Linked DNA regions of Homo sapiens: regions 1 and 2 are each linked to region 3. The links are contacts of gene promoters, found by promoter capture Hi-C in blood cells and fetal thymus (Javierre and others, 2016). All regions are on one chromosome and are shown on one strand. Each heading gives the region's core, a stretch centred on a gene start or on the middle of the fragment in contact. The rest is flanking DNA. Distances are from core to core; before and after follow the strand shown. Region 1 overlaps NPHP3-AS1 (NPHP3 antisense RNA 1). Region 2 overlaps TMEM108 (transmembrane protein 108). Region 3 holds the start of TMEM108 (transmembrane protein 108).

Region 1 (2,938 bases), core at 344-2,843, 270 kb after region 3:
TTGGCCAAGCATTATTCTAGGGGTGTCTGTGAAGGTGTTTCTGGATGAGGTTAACGTTTAAATCAGTAGACTAAATAAAGCAGATTGCTCTTCCTAATGTGGCTGGGCCTCCACAAGTCAGTGGAAAGCCTGAATAGAACAAAAGGCTGACCCTCCTCTGAATAAGAAGGAATTCCTCTGGCCTGACTGCCTTGAACTGGGACATCAGGTCTTTCTTGTCTTCAAACTCTGAAACATTGGCTCTTTCTGGATCCCAAGCCTGCTAGCATTTGGACTGGAACTACCCCATTGGCCCTCCTGTATTTCCAGCTTGTTGACTGCAAATCTTGGGACTTGTCATTGCCCGCCTCCATAATGGCATGAGACAGTTCTTAAAATAAATCTGTATGTAAGTCTCTTCATTGGTTCTGTTTCTCTGGAGAACCTTGACTAATCAAGAGTCCCAGGTGAAGCAGGGAGAGACCCAGTACATGGAGTGTGGTTCCCAGGTCATCCTCTCTGGGACAGACATGCATTCTCTGGCCCAGAGCAATGACAGGGTCTCTAAAGAGATTGGTAGATTACTTGATACAGTAGGGAGACTTGGGGTTATAAATCATCTCCATTTTATGCCCAGATCATTATAAGATTTAAACGAAATTGTCCAGGAAGCCAGGCCTTATAAATCCATAGATTCTACTTTAGTTTTCCATAAGCAATTCTAATCCAGGGTCATTCCTGCTAAAATGGACTCTCCTCCTAGCAAATCTCATTAGTTTATTTTCCAGAAGGTCAATTATAAGCATGTTTATAAGAAGATTACATTCAGCCATTTGCTTTCTTTGCTCCCAGGAGTATCCTCCTGGTACAAGGAGAGAAAAGCATCACAAGCCAGCTGCTTAATTCACTGCTTCCCCAGGATTGAAATCCAAGTGATACACCACAGACCACAGTCTAACTCCACCACATGCTAGTTCTCAGAATCTCAAACCATTGGTGGCTCCTCATGAGGAAACTGGCAAGCCCCTCAGAGAAGAGCCATCCCAAGGGTGAGGTAATTTGGGCCACAATGCTGGGAAAGAATTTAGGAAAGAACATTGGTGGGGGAGGAGGGGAGCTTGTGCTACATAAACAAAGAAATGAAATAGTAGAGTCCATTTATTGAAGGCTCACTAACATAAACTTAGAAGGGAATGTTACCTTTGTTTTACTCTTGTAGATCTGAGGCCCAGGGAGGTTGAGTAACTTGCTCAAGGTTCCACAATGAGTAAAAGGCAAAGCCAAGAGTTAAACCCAAAATAGTCTGAGGCCCAATCTCAACTCCAAACTGCCCGTTGCCCCTTTTTATACTACACTTTATGATGCTGGACCTGGAACTTTGCAAGCTGCATTTTGGTTTCCCAGCTGTTGGACTCTACCAGTGGGGACACTGGAGGAAGATAGCAAGGCTGGTGGAAGGAGAAAGGATGTGCTTTTGCCTGTTTGCCTCTTCTTCCTGTTAGTGTCACCCAGCAATGTCTCTTCACCCCAGCATTAGCAGCTTCTTTCTATAGCAGCAGCAGAATCCAATTTGCAGTCTCTCTGACACTTGAGAAACTACCTCATTGCCCCTTCAGAGACACCAGCACCAGCCAGCCTGGGCCTCCTCGTCAGGGGTGTGGGTCTCAGGCCCCAAGACCAGACTCTGAGTTTCTAAGTTTTAATTATTCTAACCTCTCCCCTCTGTTCCCCAACCTTCATGAAGGTAGCTGCATCCCGCAGTAGCTACATCCCTGACTCCTCTGTGTTCTCTTTTGTGCTTTTTCAATTACATAGTTCACAGTAGTTGAAGTGACTGGTGTGGTGTCTGTCTTCTGACCCTGACTGATACCTGTCTTCCTCTCCCATCCATTTTTGCTCTCTACTCCCAACCCACATTCTTCAAAACAAAGCAAGTGGGACCATTCCTCTCCTTTACACATGTCCTTCTCAGGGAAACTTGAATTTTATTTGGGGTGTGGAGTCTTAGGAAGGAAACTGAAGTTTATTGAGCTAGTGCTCTCTGGGCCTCTTTGGTCAAGCTCAAGACTTTGAGTATTCTTAGTTTGATATGTATTTTCACCAGCTTTATTGAGATATAATTCATGGAAAATAAACTGCATCTCTTCAAAAGGTACAGTTTAATGCATTTTGACATGTATACACCTGGGAAACAACTGAGGCAATCAAAATACAGAGCATTTTTATCACCCCCCGACATACAATTCTCTCAAGCCTTTTTTCAGTTCCCCCCTCCCTCCTCCTTGGACCCCAGGCAACCAGTCACTGATCTGCTTCCTGTCACTATAAATTACTTGACATTTTCTTAACTTTACGTAAATGGAATCATATAGTGTGTCATCTTTTATGTCTGGCTTTTTTCACTTAGCATAATGATTTTGTGATTCATTTATGCTGCCACATTTTCAAAGTTTAGTCCTTTTTCTTGCTAAGTAATAGTTCTTTGTACAGATGTACAATAGTTTGCTTATCCATTCACTTGCTGACTCACATTTGGGTAATTTCTAGTTTGGGGTTATTATGGCTAGAGGCTGAATACTTATGTATAAATCTTTGGATAGTAAATACCATCCAAAGACAAGTTATTTTTAAGTTTAGGTGTAACATACATACAGTAAATTATGTTTAAAAAAAAGTATGTAGATTGACAATTTCTCACACTCATATATCCCTGTGTAACACCACCCAGATTAAGACTTAAAACATTTTCAGTATCAAAAAAGGCCCCTCTGTGCCCCATTCTAGACAGCAGAGGTCACCACTATTCTGACATCTGTCTGCATTGATTACTTTTGCCTTTTTCGAACATCATATAATGGATTATAGAGTATGTGTGCACACTGTTGTGTCGGGTTTCTCTTGATCAACGTATGTCTATGAGATTCATTAGTGTTGTTATACATAGGTATAGCTTATTCTT
Region 2 (2,755 bases), core at 87-2,586, 260 kb before region 3:
GTACTGGGGTCTGTATTAATTGTATTTTTTTTTTCTTTATTCTTACGCTGTGGCATCTGAGACCTTCTGCATCTGGGTAGGGGTTGACCCTTCCAGGGTTAGATAATTCCTAGAGATAGTAAACTTGTCTGCAAGCACACCTTTGATGTGCAAATCCACCAAACCAGAGTTCATATACCTCCCACCCCCCATCTCCTTTAATCAGTCTCTTGCAGTCCAGGACACTATCCCTCAGCCCTAATCACTCCAGGGCTAGGTACCTGGCAACCAGGGACAATCCCTATAGCCCAGAGCCCACTAAAATCATTCAAACTAAACCTGTCTACCATGGTTACCCTGCCTTACCCATTTCTTTTTATAAAAACCACAAAAAGGCTCTCTGCGTCCTCATTAAACCTGGTGCTTCCCCATGTGGCACTGCATGGTGTGCAGTACCTCCTCTTTCCAGGGATCTTTCTGAGTATAAACTTCTTCCTTCATGACAGTCATTTCCACGTCTGCAACTCTTACCACATCTGATGAAAACAAATCCCAGCTACATGTTTAAAAAGAGGTCCCTTACCCAGTTGCCGCCAAAGTAAAAAAACAGGGGTGGGGTGATAAACCTAATTCATCTGAACACATCCTCAATTCCCCTCTTTGTCTGGGACTCTTGCTGCAGGACTGGCTGTAGGTTGCCAGGCAACACCATCAGGTATCCTGCATACTGCCTACGGACATTAATCCGTCTCTTTCAGGTCTTATTTACTTACTCATTTTACATTCTTAAATGTGGTCAGGACCACCACCCACCCCCCCATACCAGCCACAGGGTATTCTTGCTTATTTAAACAAACATTTTGGAGGCTTTCAATGCTTGATAAATGATACAGTGAGCTATGGAGTAAGGGAAGGTGTGGACCAATGAAGTAGTCTACCGATTCTAACTATGCCATTAACACACTTCATTGAGGCCTCTTTGGCTCACTGCAATTTACCTGAACACTTAGGGGTAGAAATCAGCTGTTTCTATTTCTTCTTACTCTGACATTCCACTTTTCTCCACTCTGATTTTCAGATTTATCACTTCTATGTGATAGGAAGACTGTTTTAATAAAATGTGCTAATGGGATATGGTAATTACATTTATAATTGGGAAGAATGGGGAACAGATGTATGATTGTTAAAACTGGGATGGTCCAGGAGAAGAACGTCCCTCTGCCAGAAGAGTGTGTGTGTGTTGGGTTGAAGACGTATGATGGCCTGGCTCTCCCAAATGGAAATTGTCTTCAGTTTTTGATATTATGATATCATTCTAAGCAAAGAAGAACAGTGGGCCTGTGCCATATATGAGAAAACATAAAGAAATGCCCTGTGAGATATCAGGACCTGTGACAATTTTGGCCCAACATCAGCTGGAAAACCTTAAGCATGATGAGGGCATAATCTTCATGAGCTCCTCTGCTCCAAGTCATCTTCTATATAAACGTACTGCAGAAGGGAAAACCTATGCTTGCCATGCAAACACGGCTTCACAACAAGTCCCCTTAGCACCTCCTTCCAAAGGGACTGCCAACTCCAACCCCGTCTATACAGAAATTCTAGAGAACACGGCTTGACCTCCAAACCAAACTTCTGTCTACAGGATGTCAAAACATCAAGGTTGAAGGAGAAAGACTAAGCTCAACTGTTGGTTAATCTATCTGCCACTAAAGAGCTATTCTGTTTTTATTTCCCTACTGAAATAAATAAAAACAGTTTTTCTTATTTGAAGAGTGGCTTTACGGCTGCCAAGTCAACCAGGAGACAGTAATTGAGCACTAGCTGGCTGCAAGGTATCATCCAACATCTGAAGCCTTCATTTTCACTAAACTGTGAGCTTTATATAGTTTCCCCTTATTGTTCCTAGATTACACTGGCCATGAATCAAGCACTAACAAACTCATGAAAAAGTGTTCCTTCTCCCCACAGTTCAGATTTCCCCAATGGGAATTCATGTAAGACTGTCACCCCTGTCTGTCAGCTCAAAACAGCAAGTGTGGCAGGCAGATCTCTTGGAAAACCTATCCTAAACAAATAATCCAGAAGAATAAAATGCCACAGGCAGCCGATGGTCTTTGTAGTTTTTTATAATTATAAAAAACTATAAGCAGTTTAAATATTAAACAGTAGAAAGGTGGTTAAATAAAATGCCAGCATAGCATAGTGGTTATGAGCACAGCTGAGCACACGCCCATCTCTGTCACTCACAACTCTGTGTCCTTGGGCAGGTAGCCTAACCTCTCAGCCTTGGTTTCCTCACCTGTAACATGGGCATAATATGGTTGAGTGTGAAACGAATTTATAAATATTATGAGAATGAACTGCATTAATATTTATTATAATATTTATGTACCTGATACACAGGAAGCACTATGCAAGCATTTGATAAACAAAGTGGTACCTGTTCTAGAAGAAGAATTTTACAGCTTTTACAAATGATTATCAAGAAACAAGAAAAAAGTCCCATAAAATCACAAGCACTCTAGGTAAAATACGAATATGAAAATTCACCAGGGGACTAGATGAAATAAACATAGTTGTATTGGGTTGAGAGGATCTTCTGCTTTCCAGACATTCTGTATTGCTTTTGTAAGTCAAAGAAGTTTTGAGGAGGCTTGGAGAGGGTTAGAAGAGGAAGGCGCTGGAAGAAACATTCTTCTTGGGCCTCTGATTGAAACAAATCACTTGGTCCTTCTGGCAGAGCTGGGAGGGTTGTCTGCTCTACCCAGAGAGT
Region 3 (2,901 bases), core at 123-2,622:
ATCTCATACCAGAAAGAGTTCTGAATAAATTACGTGGAAAGTCCAGAACACAGTAATATCTTCATAATGAGTTAGTTGAACCATTTCTTACAGAGTAGATTACCAGGTGTATCCAACAAATCAAGAAGTTAACCCGTGGAAAATTGAAGGGACTTTTTATGTTTGCCTATGAGCTGTCTGGGGAAATGGAGGAGAGGCAGGGAATACTTTCCATAGCTTGACCTGCTCTTAAGTTCCTGGACATACCTTCCCCTTTTTAAAGTATGATTTAAAGGCAACAATCCATCTCCCCCGGACTCCCATACAAACCTCTTTTGGCAGCCAAATGGTCTTCATCGAGCACACACTTTTCAAAGAATTAAGGACGTGTGAGTAGGTTTAGTTTAGACCCTGCCTTCCCTCTCCCCACAACCCAGTAACATGCTGAAAATAAGTAATAACCTTCCTGGGTACCCCCAGAAAAACCTGTTTGCAGAAACTACAACCTTTCCTCCGAAAAAAACCCCTATCTTCTTAAGGAAGAATCTCAGTGTGGTGGTCTGCAGTTCACTGCAGGCATTTCCCTCCTCACCATTTACCAGTCATCAGTTACGCTGCATCTGAAATTGGTTTTTGTAGACTTTCATTTAGACCGGCTCCACCGGTGCCCAACTGCTTAAAAAAAAAAATAGCCCCTGAACCAATCTCTGGATTCCTCCAGCAGGCTCAAAGCGTTCAATTTCGCTGCAACTCTGGGGTGAAAACCGCCAGGTCCAGCCGGCAGAGCAACCTCCCGGGCAGCACGGAGGCTCCGTCCCCGGCGAGGCCGCCGGCACCTAGGCAGGAGGGCTCTTCGCACAGCTGCGCTAGGAATTCGGCTCCGCTCGCGGCCGCAGGATTAGTTCGAGTCCCTCGGGCTGGCCAAAGTGACACTACATTTCTTCTTCTTCGTTTCCCCATGTGACAGGTCCCCCTGCATTAAAGCCACCTCCTCCTCGGCCCCAGCCCAGGTCCAGCGCTCCTGACGCCCGCGCCCCATCACCCGCACCCTCCACCTGGGGAGGGGGTTCATGCCAGCAACCCTCCAGGCGGGAAACAAAGGCGGAGGCAGGGCTGCCAGGTGGGCAACTCCCCTCGGGCAGACCCGTCACGCAGTGGGGAGGATGGGAAGGTGCCTGAGAGGATAGGAAAAGGGAAACCAAGGCAACCGGGGCTGCATCCTCCCTGAAGCTGGGCTCCCGGGGCAAGCTGACCCCACACCTCCCCGAGCCCCGCCCAGCCCAGCCTAACCCGCTTGCCGGGACCCAGCATGGGAAGGACTGGGGGGACGCCCCGGAGCGCCGCTTACCTCGGGAGAAGCGCTCCGGCTCCCTCCGACGGCTCAGGAGAAAGCCCCACCGCTCGCGCACGCGCTCTCGCGCACTCGCGCCTTCGCCCCTCGGGCCCCCGCGCGCGCCCCTCCGACCAGGCTCTGGCCCGCCCCGGCCTTGTCCGTCAGCGTCCGCGACAGCCAATCCGGTCGCACGGAAGGCTCAGCGCCGGTCACGTGGTGAGACCAGCCAATCACCAAATTGCCCTCGGCAGCGCCCGCTCCGATGTCTCTGGGGGTTCGGTTGCTACCTAGCAGAGCGGGTGCGAGGCGGGCACAAAGGGTCTCTGTTTTCGGGGGCTAAGTGGCACTCAGTTGATCAATTACCAGATCAATTGACTTCTCAAATTCTAATATAAATAAGAATCACTTGACTCTCTTGTTAAAATGCGGATTCTGATCCAGAAGGTCTGGGGTGGAGACCTGAGATCCTGCATTTCTAATAAGCTCCCAGGTGGCGATGACGAAGCTCTTGGTCGGAGGATCACGCTTTGAATTGCACCTGTCCGAAAGTAATGGCTGTAGCCCCAGCTCCACGTAATTTGAAACTTGCACGACCTTTCTTGTCCTTCTTCCACTGATGAGAAGCGTTCCTGTGGCTACATGGGGTGTCCCGGTGATGCTTACAGTTTGGGCACCAGCTGAGGGAAGGTGTGTTTAATCCCCACATTACCCACCCTTGGTCTATGGAGCAGCAATCATGCCAACTTGGTGACTGGAGTGTGGAACCAGAAGTGGAGACGGAATGGCCATGGAAGAGAACACTGTGTCTACGTTAATCCTAAAGGGTTGGGCGTGTGTGTCTGAGTGGCGCGGTGCCAGACACTTGGCCAGAGAAGTGGTATAAGTGGTCCCTGCTTCTCAAAACGTAACAATTTGTTGTAGAACTATACAGGCTAGTTCAGAAAGAAGCATGTGGAGAAAACATCCGGGAAGCTAACAGTCACAGCACAAATTCAGGCATAAGCTAAAGAGGTTGTAAAATAATATGCCTTGAGGGTCTTAAAAACTGTCCAAATATTCTTCTGTCAGTAATTCCAGAGTCTAGAAGTTAGGACTCCCACTGGCCCTGTCATTTCTCAAATTTGACCTAAGGACTCAGTGTTTTCGGACTGGCCAGCTAGAACCTTTGTCGTTCAGCGTAGCCAAGCTCTTATTACCCAGTAGTGTACCGCCGTGGTTCAAGATTCTTAAGTGCTGAATTCTCCAAAACCTTCATCTCTCATCTCTTGAAACCAGGTGGTATAACCCTGCTTCAGCATTTCTCTCTCACTATCAAGGTGATCAAACTGTCGCTTAGAGAAAACTTCACCTTTGTCAGTGTGTCCTGAACTTCTCTGGCTTCTCATCCCCAGAAGTGAAGCCCACCTAGCAATCTCAGACATTGTTCATCACATTGTCCCTATCAGAGATGGCATCGCACAAAATTCAGAGTTTCTGGGAACATGTTAAACCTGTCACAGCAATGGTTCTGGCTACAGCAGGAGTAAAGAAATGTCTAAGCAAGAAAAATGTTTTGAAAGCCTCAAAAAAAGTTTGTTTGCTGTCATTAA

Evidence for each region. The method cuts DNA at HindIII sites, captures the fragments that hold promoters and counts their contacts. A CHiCAGO score of 5 or more calls a contact.
Region 1: a contact is called between a fragment that was not itself captured here and the fragment with the promoter of TMEM108 in region 3, in 1 of 17 cell types (megakaryocytes). The highest score is 6.9, in megakaryocytes.
Region 2: a contact is called between a fragment that was not itself captured here and the fragment with the promoter of TMEM108 in region 3, in 1 of 17 cell types (megakaryocytes). The highest score is 6.4, in megakaryocytes.

The regions. Positions count from the first base shown.
Region 1 is chr3:132,770,493-132,773,430 of GRCh38, reverse strand. All of the region lies in intron 3 of NPHP3-AS1 (NPHP3 antisense RNA 1), which reads right to left. Among named protein-coding and RNA genes, the nearest start is that of NPHP3-ACAD11, 50 kb to the right of the region's middle. The HindIII fragment of the contact is 5,583 bases long and covers 1-2,938 here.
Region 2 is chr3:133,298,223-133,300,977 of GRCh38, reverse strand. All of the region lies in intron 3 of TMEM108 (transmembrane protein 108), which reads right to left. Among named protein-coding and RNA genes, the nearest start is that of TMEM108-AS1, 42 kb to the right of the region's middle. The HindIII fragment of the contact is 4,368 bases long and covers 1-2,755 here.
Region 3 is chr3:133,036,862-133,039,762 of GRCh38, reverse strand. TMEM108 (transmembrane protein 108) reads right to left here and starts at 1,372. Exons shown (of 6, transcript NM_023943.4): 1 at 1,328-1,372. RefSeq lists an enhancer at 1,384-1,678. The HindIII fragment of the contact is 5,754 bases long and covers 1-2,901 here.